Regions from separate parts of the Homo sapiens genome. Here region 2 is linked to region 1. Evidence: promoter capture Hi-C in 16 types of primary human blood cells and fetal thymus (Javierre and others, 2016). All regions are on one chromosome and are shown on one strand. The core of a region is centred on a gene start or on the middle of the fragment in contact, and the rest is flanking DNA. Distances in the headings are between cores, read along the strand shown.

What was found. The method cuts DNA at HindIII sites, captures the fragments that hold promoters and counts their contacts. A CHiCAGO score of 5 or more calls a contact.
Region 2: a fragment that was not itself captured here is called in contact with the fragment with the promoter of PCOLCE in region 1 in 1 of 17 cell types (erythroblasts); the score reaches 5.6 in erythroblasts.

What each region holds. Positions count from the first base shown.
Region 1 is chr7:100,600,320-100,605,403 of GRCh38, reverse strand. PCOLCE (procollagen C-endopeptidase enhancer) reads right to left here and starts at 3,041. Exons shown (of 9, transcript NM_002593.4): 1 at 2,853-3,041; 2 at 1,866-1,974; 3 at 1,187-1,445; 4 at 189-313. The coding sequence starts at 2,947. FBXO24 (F-box protein 24) reads right to left here. Exons shown (of 10, transcript NM_033506.3): 10 at 4,287-4,870. The coding sequence ends at 4,505. It overlaps PCOLCE-AS1 (PCOLCE antisense RNA 1), which reads left to right and starts at 1,366. Exons shown (of 9, transcript NR_038910.1): 1 at 1,366-1,566; 2 at 2,238-3,064; 3 at 3,721-3,784; 4 at 4,552-4,681. RefSeq lists silencers at 423-572, 753-1,132 and an enhancer at 1,140-1,932. The HindIII fragment of the contact is 14,893 bases long and covers 1-3,948 here.
Region 2 is chr7:100,454,413-100,459,496 of GRCh38, reverse strand. TSC22D4-C7ORF61 (TSC22D4-C7orf61 readthrough) reads left to right here. Exons shown (of 6, transcript NM_001395846.1): 6 at 2,512-2,877. The coding sequence ends at 2,745. It overlaps SPACDR (sperm acrosome developmental regulator), which reads left to right. Exons shown (of 3, transcript NM_001004323.3): 3 at 2,512-2,877. The coding sequence ends at 2,745. Among named protein-coding and RNA genes, the nearest start is that of SPACDR, 7.3 kb to the left of the region's middle. RefSeq lists a silencer at 2,233-2,395. The HindIII fragment of the contact is 8,422 bases long and covers 1-5,084 here.

The DNA.
Region 1 (5,084 bases), core at 1,792-4,291:
GAGACTTGTCTCAGTTGTAATTTTTACATTTTTGTTTGCGTGCATGCAGGGGTTGGGGCTGTTTTGGGTGCCCACCAGCGCAAGCGCAGTGCTCGGGACACAGCAGATCTTCAATAAATCTCTGCTGGCTGCAAGCTGGAGGGCGCCGCCTGGGTCCCCTAGGGCAGCCCGGGGAGGAGGGTCGGTACCTGGTCCGGGGGCGCGATGATGTGCCAGGAACAGCTGATGCCCGGGGGGTAATCGGACTCGGGCCAGTTGGGCGTGGTCAGGGTTCCCTGGGCCTTCTCCAGCCGCCCCCCGCAAAATTGGTGCTCTGGGGAGGGGAGAGAGGAGCGGGGGTGGGGGGCGGTGGAGACCCTCGGTCAGCTTCAGGAGAACTCTAGGCTGGGAGCCCCGGCAGGCAGCTCGGATGTCTGGGGCTCAGGATGAGGGGACGAGAAGAAGGGGAGGTAAGATGGGGGCAGGTTAACAGAGAGCGGCCGGGAGGAGCGCGGCTCGGGGAAGTCTGGGGCCGCAGGGCGCACTGGCGGGCGGTGGAAGCGGGAGGAGGAACTGGCTGGACGCCCCCTTCTGGCCCCTCCCCGACCCGCGGCCGCACCGCGCCTCTTCCCCTAGGAGATCCCATCTCCCCGGCCCTGCAGCAGAGTCCCCTTTCAGGCTGGAGAGGGTGTCCTCGACTTGGGGCACAGCCCCCGAGGACCCCTTTAGGGAGGTCCCCGCCTGAAACATTGCAAGGGAGACTTCTGCCGCCAGGAGGGGGTGATGGGACCGCAATCGGGAGCCCAGGGCTGGGTGTAGGGGCCCCCCGGGGTTGGAGGAACCTAGTCCCCCCAGCCCTGGGGTGCCCCCTCGCGCCCGACGGAGGGAGCCCGATTGCGGACGGGGGCCGGCAGTTACTCACCGTCCCAGTAACCCCAGGCCGCCCATTCCACCCGCGGGTCGGTGACCCATTTCCGCCTCGCGCCTGGGGGGGGCCCTGGAAGAGGGATGGGTGGGTGCGGGAGGAGGGGAGAGAAGACGGGGAGGAGGGACTGAAGGGGCGGTTAGTGAGGAAAATGGGTCAGGGAGGTAGGGGGCCCTAGGCACTGGGGCGCGGGGTGGGCGGGGCGGAGGTTAGGGCTGGGGGCGGGGCTGCGGCCGGGGCGGGGCCTGGAGGGGGGGAAGGCGGAGGTGAGGGAGTTCTCACCAGTGCCCGAGGTGGCCCGCCCGCTGTACCAGAGCAGGAAGCCTCGTCCTCCTGTGCCCTCATCCGTCGTCATCCTCAGGGTCACCTGGTTGCCGGGGGCGACTAGGGGCGCAGGCCGGAAGGTCCCACAAAAGCGTCCGAGCCGCTGGCCGGAAGTCCCAGACCCAGCGAAGACCTCCAGAGCATCGTAGCGGCAGGCGGGGTGCAGCTCCAGGTCGAAGACTCGGAATGAGAGGGACACAGTCTGGCCCTCGGGGACCTGATAGCGGGGACAGAGGCGGGGACCCACAGAGTCAGGCCCCACACAACCCAGCCAGAGGGCAGCTCCCCTGCCCCAAGCGTTTCTTGCAGAAACGGACTGAATGGGAAGGGGCCTCCATGTGAGTGCAGAGCAGAGGGCCTGGTCTCTGCAGCTCTGCTGGTAGCCTGTGCAGGGGACAAGAGCTGAGGCTTTGGAAGAGGAGGGAGGGCCGGGGACTGGAGAATGAAGATTTGAGGGAAGGGTTAAGATGATGCGTGTTACGGTGGGAATGATGCCTTCAGTGACAGAGGGAAGACACTTGGAGCTGCCCCAGGTTGAGAAGGTGGTGCGGGGGGGACGGGGGGGGGGTCCCTTCGCAGTCAGGCCTTTTTGCCTCTGAGACTTTAACAAGGGGTAGTGCCCAGAGGGGTTTCTCACCGTTATGGTCCAGATGCACTCCTTATTAGGGGGGTAGAGGTTGGGGAACCCCTCACTTGCCACGTAACCTGATTCCCCCTTCACATCCCCTCCGCACAGGAACACGGGTCTGGAGAACAGAAAAGGGGTCAGGAAAGAGCAGGGACGGGTGGGACGGGGGAGCACTGGCAAGATGGGGATGAGGTGATGAGGATGAAACTCCAAGGAGGGAAGCTGGGGGATGAAATGGAAAGGCCTTGAGAGACCTGGGGCAGCTTCCACCAGCCAGGACAGGGCTGGGGTGTCCCAGACTCCCACAAAGATAAGGGAAAAGTGGGCCTGGCAACTCGACCATCCCTCCAACCCCAAGAGTCCCCACCCCCACCCCAACAGGAATTCCCGGAATCCTCCTCGGCCCCCCTTCCAGACTCCCGCCTCACTCTGCCTGGCAGTCCAGGGACAGGAGCCGCCTAACTACTTCCAGATGTGGACACAGCCACGAGGCGGTGGGGGGGAGGGGGTGGAGAGATGGAGGGAGCTGCAGTGGCGATGGCCCTCTGATTGAACCTGGAGGCCAGGCTCCGCGAGCTCCACACCTTAGCCCTGCCCCTGTTCCAAACTACTTCAGATTCTGACTCCCAAGTCTCCACTCACTGCCCCCTCCTCCCCCTACAATCCCTCTCGAATTCCTTCCTGGAATCCAGCTACCAGGCAAGTTCAGGAGCTTGGCTCTCTCTTGGGTTCTATGGGGGGTCAAGGATCTGGGTGGGTGGGGAGACTTAAGAGACCAGAGGACGAAGGTGGGGGAATGGGAGCAGTGGTGGCCTGCAGGAGACCAAGGTCTTGCAGCAGATGGGGAGGATTTGGGGGCCAGAGAAGGGTGAGGCGGTGGGGAATCTGGGGAGTGGTGTGTCAGCAAGGGAACCCAAAATATCTCCAGGCATAACCCCAAAGGAATCGGGGGTCTGAAGTTCACTGGAGCTGTCTGGAAGATGCCAAGAGACCTACCTGGTGTAGTTGGGGGTCTGGCCCTGGGCAAAAGGCAGCAGGGCGCAGGCAGTGAGGAGGGGCCCCAGGAGGGAGGCTGTGGCTGCAGGCAGCATGGCCCCGGGGGAAAGGCGCTGGGGTCCTCAAGACAGAGGCAGCAGCTGAATTTTGCAGAGCAGCAGCAGCGGTGGCGGCAGCAGCAGGATAATCAGCGCCAGATGGGGCAGCCTTGGGTGTGTGGGCGTGGGGACTGGCCAGTGGGGCGGGCAATGGGGAAGGCGGGACAGTGGCGTGTCCTGGGACCTCTCTAGGTCTAGGACACATAAATGTTGACCTTAGGAGGGGGAGGAGCAGTGAGGGGCAGAGGCCGTCTCCCAGGCCTCAAGTAACGTCATCGGGAACCCCACTCTGTCCAGTGAGGGAGTATCTCCGGGAACTTCTGAGGACTCCCTAGCCCCCATCCTCCCCCCGCCCCTGCTTCCTCAGCTCAGGAGCCCTCATTGCTCACCCCCTGCCTGACCACCCCTGCCAGCTCATTTTCCACTTCAATTTCTTTTTTTTTTTTTTTTTTTTTTTGAGACAGAGTCTCATTCTGTGACCCAGGCTGGAGTGCAGTGGCGCGATCTCTGCTCACTGCAACCTCCGCCTCCCGGGTTCAAGCAATTCTTGTGCCTTAGCCTCCCGAGTAGCTGGGACTGCAGGTGCATGCCTCCACACCTGGCTAATTTTTGTATTTTTAGTAGAGGCAGGGTTTCAGCATGCTGTCCAGGCTGGTCTCAAATTCCTAGCCTCAGGTGATCCGCCCACCTCGGACTCCCAAAGTGCTGGGATTATAGGCGTAGCCACCACACCTGGCCTCCACTTCACATCTCCATTGCCTTCTCTCCAGACCTGGGCCAGACTAGGCCAAGGAGAAGGAATTCTCACCCATGACCTCTTCCAACTACTTGAAGGTACAGGAAGCAAGGCAGGAGGCATGGGGTGTGGATGAAGGGAGTGTCCTTGTTACTCAGGAAGAGGTGGAAGGAGTAGAAAATAGAGCCCAAACCTGGGAGGTAAACAGAAGGGAGAGAGGAGGGGGGCTGGCTTCAGGCCGAAGGGAGATGGGTGGGAAGCTTTCGGGGGTCAGGAGGAACAGGCTGCCTCAGGATGGGGACAAGTCTAGTGGGCAGGGGATCCCAGTGGGGTAGCCAAGAGCATCTGTGCATAGAGTTGTTCCAGAAGGTAGGGCCAGAACTTCCCAGTCCAAACGACCAGGTGTGCTCTTGGGAGCAGGGAGTGGACAACAATGTGAAGGGTTCAGGCAGCATCAGCTCTGCTGCACCTGAGACCTGGAGCTGCTTGTGCTGCCTGCCCCTGCCTGGGCTCCTGCCCTCCTGCACCCACCAAGCCGGGCACCCACCCACCCCATCCCTGCCCCTGTCCCTCCCAGCCCCCAAGGCTTCCACACCAGGCCTCGCTGCAGCCTTTTATTCTATCCATCAAATCTCTTGTCCATGATAGTCAGGTTGGGGGCCCCTCCTGGGCAGCCCCCTGAACATTCTTACCCTGGTTAGCCGTCCCCACCCCCTAGCAACCCCTTCCCACACGCATGTGCACAATGGTCATTGCTCCTTAGTCCCTGGCCTGGGGCCGGACTCCCTCCTCCAGGGACTAGGCTAGCATGAGGGGGATTAGGTCTCAGGGGCTGGGGGCCCTACACCACCCCCGCCTCCTTCAGCCCTCTGCAGCATGTCCAGGGCCTCCCAGAAGAAGTCCTTCTGTGCGGCCATCAGGGGCATCCACCCTACGATCTCCTTCATCTTCTCCGTGCGGTCCTGCAACGTTTGGCAACTGTGGATCTGGCTGAGGTACTCCTCGCAGGCCTGGGCCATCCCCCCGGGGTCCTGGGGTGCTCTGGCCCCCAGGCTGGGCTCAGGAGTCCCCACCACCCTGCTGGCTGGCAGGTGGCGATAGGGGGCGTGCTGCTCAATGTCGTGGCTGGACAGGATGTATAGGCACTCCCTGGTGGCACAGAGGGCACAGGCACACAGAGGGACCTTGGAGGAGGAGAGAAAGGGGGCATGGCTGAGTGGTGCTTTCCTTGCAGGGTTTCCCAGGGTGCCCGGGCTAATCTGCCTATTGCATTCTTCCCTCTCACACCAGCCCTGAGCCGGCTAAGTCCCAGGGGTGTGTGAGGTTGGGCAAGGCCAGCACAGTCTGCTAAGGGAGAAAGCAGAGAGCGTGGTGTGCGGCAGAGGAGGGAGGTGGGGT
Region 2 (5,084 bases), core at 1,595-4,094, 150 kb after region 1:
CCAACATGGTGAAACCCTGTATCTACTAAAAATACAAAAAAATTATCTGGGCATGGTGGTGGGCTACTCGGGAGGCTGAGGCAGGAGAATCGCTTGAACCTGGGAGGCGGAGGTTGCAGTGAGCTGAGATCATGCCACTGCACTCCAGCCTGGGCAACAAAAGTGAAACTCTGCCTGAAAAAATAAAGGCCGGGCACGGTGGCTCACACCTGTAATCCCAGCACTTTGGGAGGCCGAGGCAGGCGGATCTCGAGGTCAGGAGATCAAGACCATCCTGACTAACAGGATGAAAGCCCGTCTCTACTAAAAAAAAAAATACAAAAAAATTAGCCAGGCGTGGTGGCAGGCGCCTGTAGTACCAGCTACTCGGGAGGCTGAGGCAGGAGAATGGCGTGAACCCGGGAGGCGGAGCTTGCAGTGAGCCAAGATTGTGCCACTGCACTCCAGCCTGGGTGACAGAGGGAGACTTCGTCTCAAAAAAAAAAAAAAAAAAAAGGTAAAAAGGACAAACTATTGATACACACAGTAACGTGGGTGTGAATCTTGAGGGAAATTTTTTGTTTTGTTTTGAGACGGAGTTTCACTCTCATTGCCCAGGCTGGAATGAAGTGGTGCGACCTCGGCTCACTGCAACCTCCGCCTCCCAGCTTCAAGCTATTCTCCTGCCTCAGCCTCCCGATTAGATGGGACCACAGGTGCCCACCACCACACCCAGCTAATTTTTTGTATTTTTAGTAGAGATGGGGTTTCACCATGTTAGCCAGGCTGGTCTGGAACTCCTGACTTCAGGTGATCCACCCACCTTGGCCTCCCAAAGTGCTGGGATTATAGGCATGAGCCACTGGGCCCGGCCTCAAGGAAATTATACTGAGTGGAAACAACCAATCCTAAAAGGTTATATTCTGAATGATTCCGTTTATATTATCTACCACTCTTGAAATAACAAAAGTCTAGAAATGGCAAACATATTAGTGGCTCAGTGGTTTCCAGGGGCCACAGAGATAGGGGGAGAAGAGTGTAGTTATTAAAGGACAACATGAGGGACACTTGTGATGATGCAAATGTTCTGTATCTTTTTTTGTTTTGTTTTTGTTTTTTGCTTTCTCCTGTCTGATGGAAATGTTCTGTAGCTTTCTGTTTTGTTTTGTTTTTATGTTTTTGTTTTTTGTTTCTCCTGCCCGATGGAAATGTTCTGTACCTTGACTGTGGTAGTTGGATACATGAACCTGCATACTGGATAAAACTTGGTAAAATTATACACACACACACACACACACACACACACACACACACACACACACCAGTGAGTACAAGTACAACTGGGGAAATCTACATAAGATCAGTAGATTGGATCAATGTCAATATCCTGACTATGATATAATAGTATAGATTTGCAAGATTTTCCTATGAGGTGAACTCAGTAAAGGGTGCACAGGATCTCTATGATTTCTTCCAATTGCAGGTCAGTCAGTCTACAATGATCTCAAAACAAAACAAAACAAAAAAACAGTTTAAGCCGAGCGTGGCGACTCACGCCTGTAATCTCAGCATTTGGGAGGCTGAGGCAGGTGGATCACTTGAGCTCAGGAGTTCAAGACCAGCCTGGGCAAAACCCCATTTCTACAAAAAAAAAAAAAAATATATATATATATATACACACACACACACACACACACACACACACACACACACATATATATATATAAAAGTTAGCCGGGCATGGTGGTGCACGACTGTAGTCCCAGCTACTCAGGAGGCTGAGGTGGGAGCATCACTTGAACTTGGGAGGTGGAGGTTGCAGTGAGCTGAGATTATGCCACTGCACTCCAGCCTGGGTGACAGAGTGAGACCTTGTCTCAAAAAAAAAAAAAAAAAAAAGGCCAGGCATGGTGGCTCACGCCTGTAATCCCAGCACTTTGGGAGGCCGAGGCCGGCTGATCACTTGAGGTCAGGAGTTCGAGACCAGCCTGGCCAACATGGTGAAACCCCTTCTCTACTAAAACTACAAAAATTAGCTGGGCGTGATAGCGAGCACCTGTAATCCCAGCTACTCAGGAGCCTGAGGCAGAAGAATCGCTTAAACCCAGGAGGTGGAGGATGCAGTGAGCTGAGATCATGCCACTGTACTCCAGCCTGGGTGATAGAGCAAGACTCCATCTCAAAACAACAAAAAAAAGAAGAATAGAACTGATGGGCCAGGTGTGATGCCTCACGCCTGTAATCCCCAACACTTTGGGAAGCCAAGGCAGGAAGATCTCTTGAGCCCAGGAGTTCGAGACCAGCCTGGGCAACATAGCAAGACCCCGTCTCATTAAAAAAAAAAAAAAGGATAGAAATGACAAACATTTGATGCAACCTGAGAAGGCTTTCTGGAGGAGGTGATGTATGAGTTGGGCTGATGGGAGAGGTGGAATCAGGGAGCCCTTTGCTGTTTATCTATGGGTCGTTCTAGCGGCAGTTTCTCCCTAGACCCAGCTATTTACGCATGCACATCTTCTCTTTCTCTTACAGTCATCAGTGAGTTCTGCCTCAGTCAGCTCCCAAGTGAGGACGCAGTCACCTTTGAAGACTCCGGAGGCTGAGTTGCTGTGGGAGGTGTACCTGGTGCTGTGGGCCGTTCGGAAACACCTGCGCCGGCTGTACCGCAGGCAGGAGAGGCACAGACGGCACCACGTCCGATGCCATGCTGCCCCCCGACCCAACCCGGCTCAGTCCCTGAAACTGGATGCCCAAAGTCCCCTCTAGGGGGAACCCCAGACCCTTAGAGAGTCCTGACCTCACTCTTACCTGGGGTCCCATATCAGCCCCTTCATTCCATGTATTCCAGTTGTAAAACAAGTATCAAAATATTGGGAAATAAATATCAGATAGTTCTGAGTCAGTATGGAGTGTGTTTGTGGACGGCGGGAGGGGATGAGAGGAGTTTGGGTGGGTCAGGGAGAGACCCCTAAGGTGAGGGCCTAAATCCCAGTAGGGGTCACCTGTGGGTCTATTTGGGGGGAAGCATGGTCAGCACGTTTCTGCTCTGGGTCCCACCCCCTTCTTGGGGCCAAAATGCCTGTTTGTAACTCCACCTTTCCTTATAAGGACGGTAACAGCTGCCATTCACCAAGGACCCAGTCCCGTCAGCTGCTGTCCTTAGCGATCCTACAAGAAAGGTATTTAGGGTGGATTACGGGACTTGTCCAAGGCTCAGCAAAGGAGGCCTTGCTGGAAACTGCCAGCTCCCAGGGGTAGCCCACTACCCTGCCTCTCTGGTGCTGAAGGGCTTTGCCATGGGCTTGGCTGTGGAGAGTTGTGCGTCTGCAGACGCACATGGGGGCTGTGGGAGATGCATCCACGTGCTGTGAAGGAACTCCAGCCCCGCTGCCTGCTGCCCGCGCCTCACCAAGAGCTGAAACTACACCTCCAGGGGGCTCTACAGGGACCATGCTCACGGCAGGGCCGGGTGAAGGCTGCAGCCTAGGAGCTGGGTGAGGGATTTGGCCTGGCACCGTGGGAATAAGGACCTAGAGGGAGGCTGTGGCAATTTGGAAGGAGGTTGGAGGGCAACGGAGACAACAAGAAGGGAGACCCAGCAGCCTCAGGTCCCCTCTCGGAGTAGCCAAGCCACATGAAGGTGCAGAGGTGGCTCTCCAGGAAAAAGCAGGGTTGTTTCACAAAAGCAACAGCAAGGCCGGGCACGGTGACTCATGCCTATAATCCCAGCACCTTGGGAGACTGAGGCGGGAGGATTGCTTGAGCTCAGGAGTTTGAGACCAGCCTGGGCAACATAACAAGACCTTATCTCTTAAAACATCTTTTTCACATGGTGAAACCCCGTTTCTACTAAAAATACAAAAAATTAGCTGGGTGTGGTGGCATGTGTCTATAATCCCAGCTACTTGGGAGGCTGAGACAGAATAATTTGAACCCGGGAGGCAGAGGTTGCAATGAGGTGAGATTGCACCAGTGCACTCCAGCCTGGGCAACAGAGTGAGACTCTATCTCAGAAAAAAAAAAAAAAAGAAAGAGAAAAGAAAGGTCATGTAGCTTTCATTCTGCACATGTTACACAGCAGGTGTTCAACACATGAGTTAAGTGACTTCACTGGGAATCAGTCCTGAGTGAAGCCTAAAGTCAAAGCCTGCTTTCAGGTTTTCAGGCGGGGCCTCAAAACAGACTAATAAAGAGCAGCTCATGTCTGGAGTTTTCAATCACCAATTATTCATCACGTCTCTATTATCTGCCAGGAACCCTTCTGGGGGTGAATGGTGTTGGTGCAGGATCTGAGTCCCAGGAAGCCCTGAGATTTAATGGGTCCTGAGGTTTGGAGTAGTACCTAGCTGTCTAACATCCGGGATCAGCCCCTCCGAGTCTTTAGAGATGAGCTCCTCATCGCTGGGGACCTGAGGTTTCAGTGAGAGGAGGGGAGGGGAGAGTAGGACGAAGCTGGGCCTCTGAGGGTCACTGGTAAAATAGCCTTGCAAGTAGCTACAGGCCCAGGAGCTCATCCAGGCTTGACGCTGTGGGCTTGTGGAAAGGAATACTGCTCTCGTTTGTCTTTGGCTTCTTCAGCTCTTGGGAGTGGAAGGGAAATTAAGGAAGGTGGGTTCAGCCAGCAACCAAGGCACATCCCATCACTCTCTCCTTCCCCAGATCTGGAGCCCTGTCTAGGCTTGGCTGAGCAGGCACAGGCAGACTTGTGGGAGAGGAAGGAAAGGGGTGGGCAGAAGGAAGCTGCCTCTTGATGACAGTTTTTTTGTGTGTTTTTTTGAGATGGAGTCTCACTCTATCGCCAAGGCTGGAGTGCAGTGGTGTGATCTCGGCTCATTGCAACCTCCGCCCGTGGGGTTCAAGTGGTTCTCCTGCCTCAGCCTCTGGAGTAGCTGGGATTACAGGTGCTTGCCACCACACCCATGTAACCGTTTTTGTTTTTTGGTTTTTTTTTTTTTTTTTTTGAGACAGAGTCTCACTCTGTCACCCAGGCTGTAGTGCAGTGGCATGATCTCCGCTGACGGCAAGCTCCGCCTCCCGGGTTCACACCATTCTCCTGCCTCAGCCTCCTGAGTAGCTGGGATTACAGGTACATGCCACCACGCCCG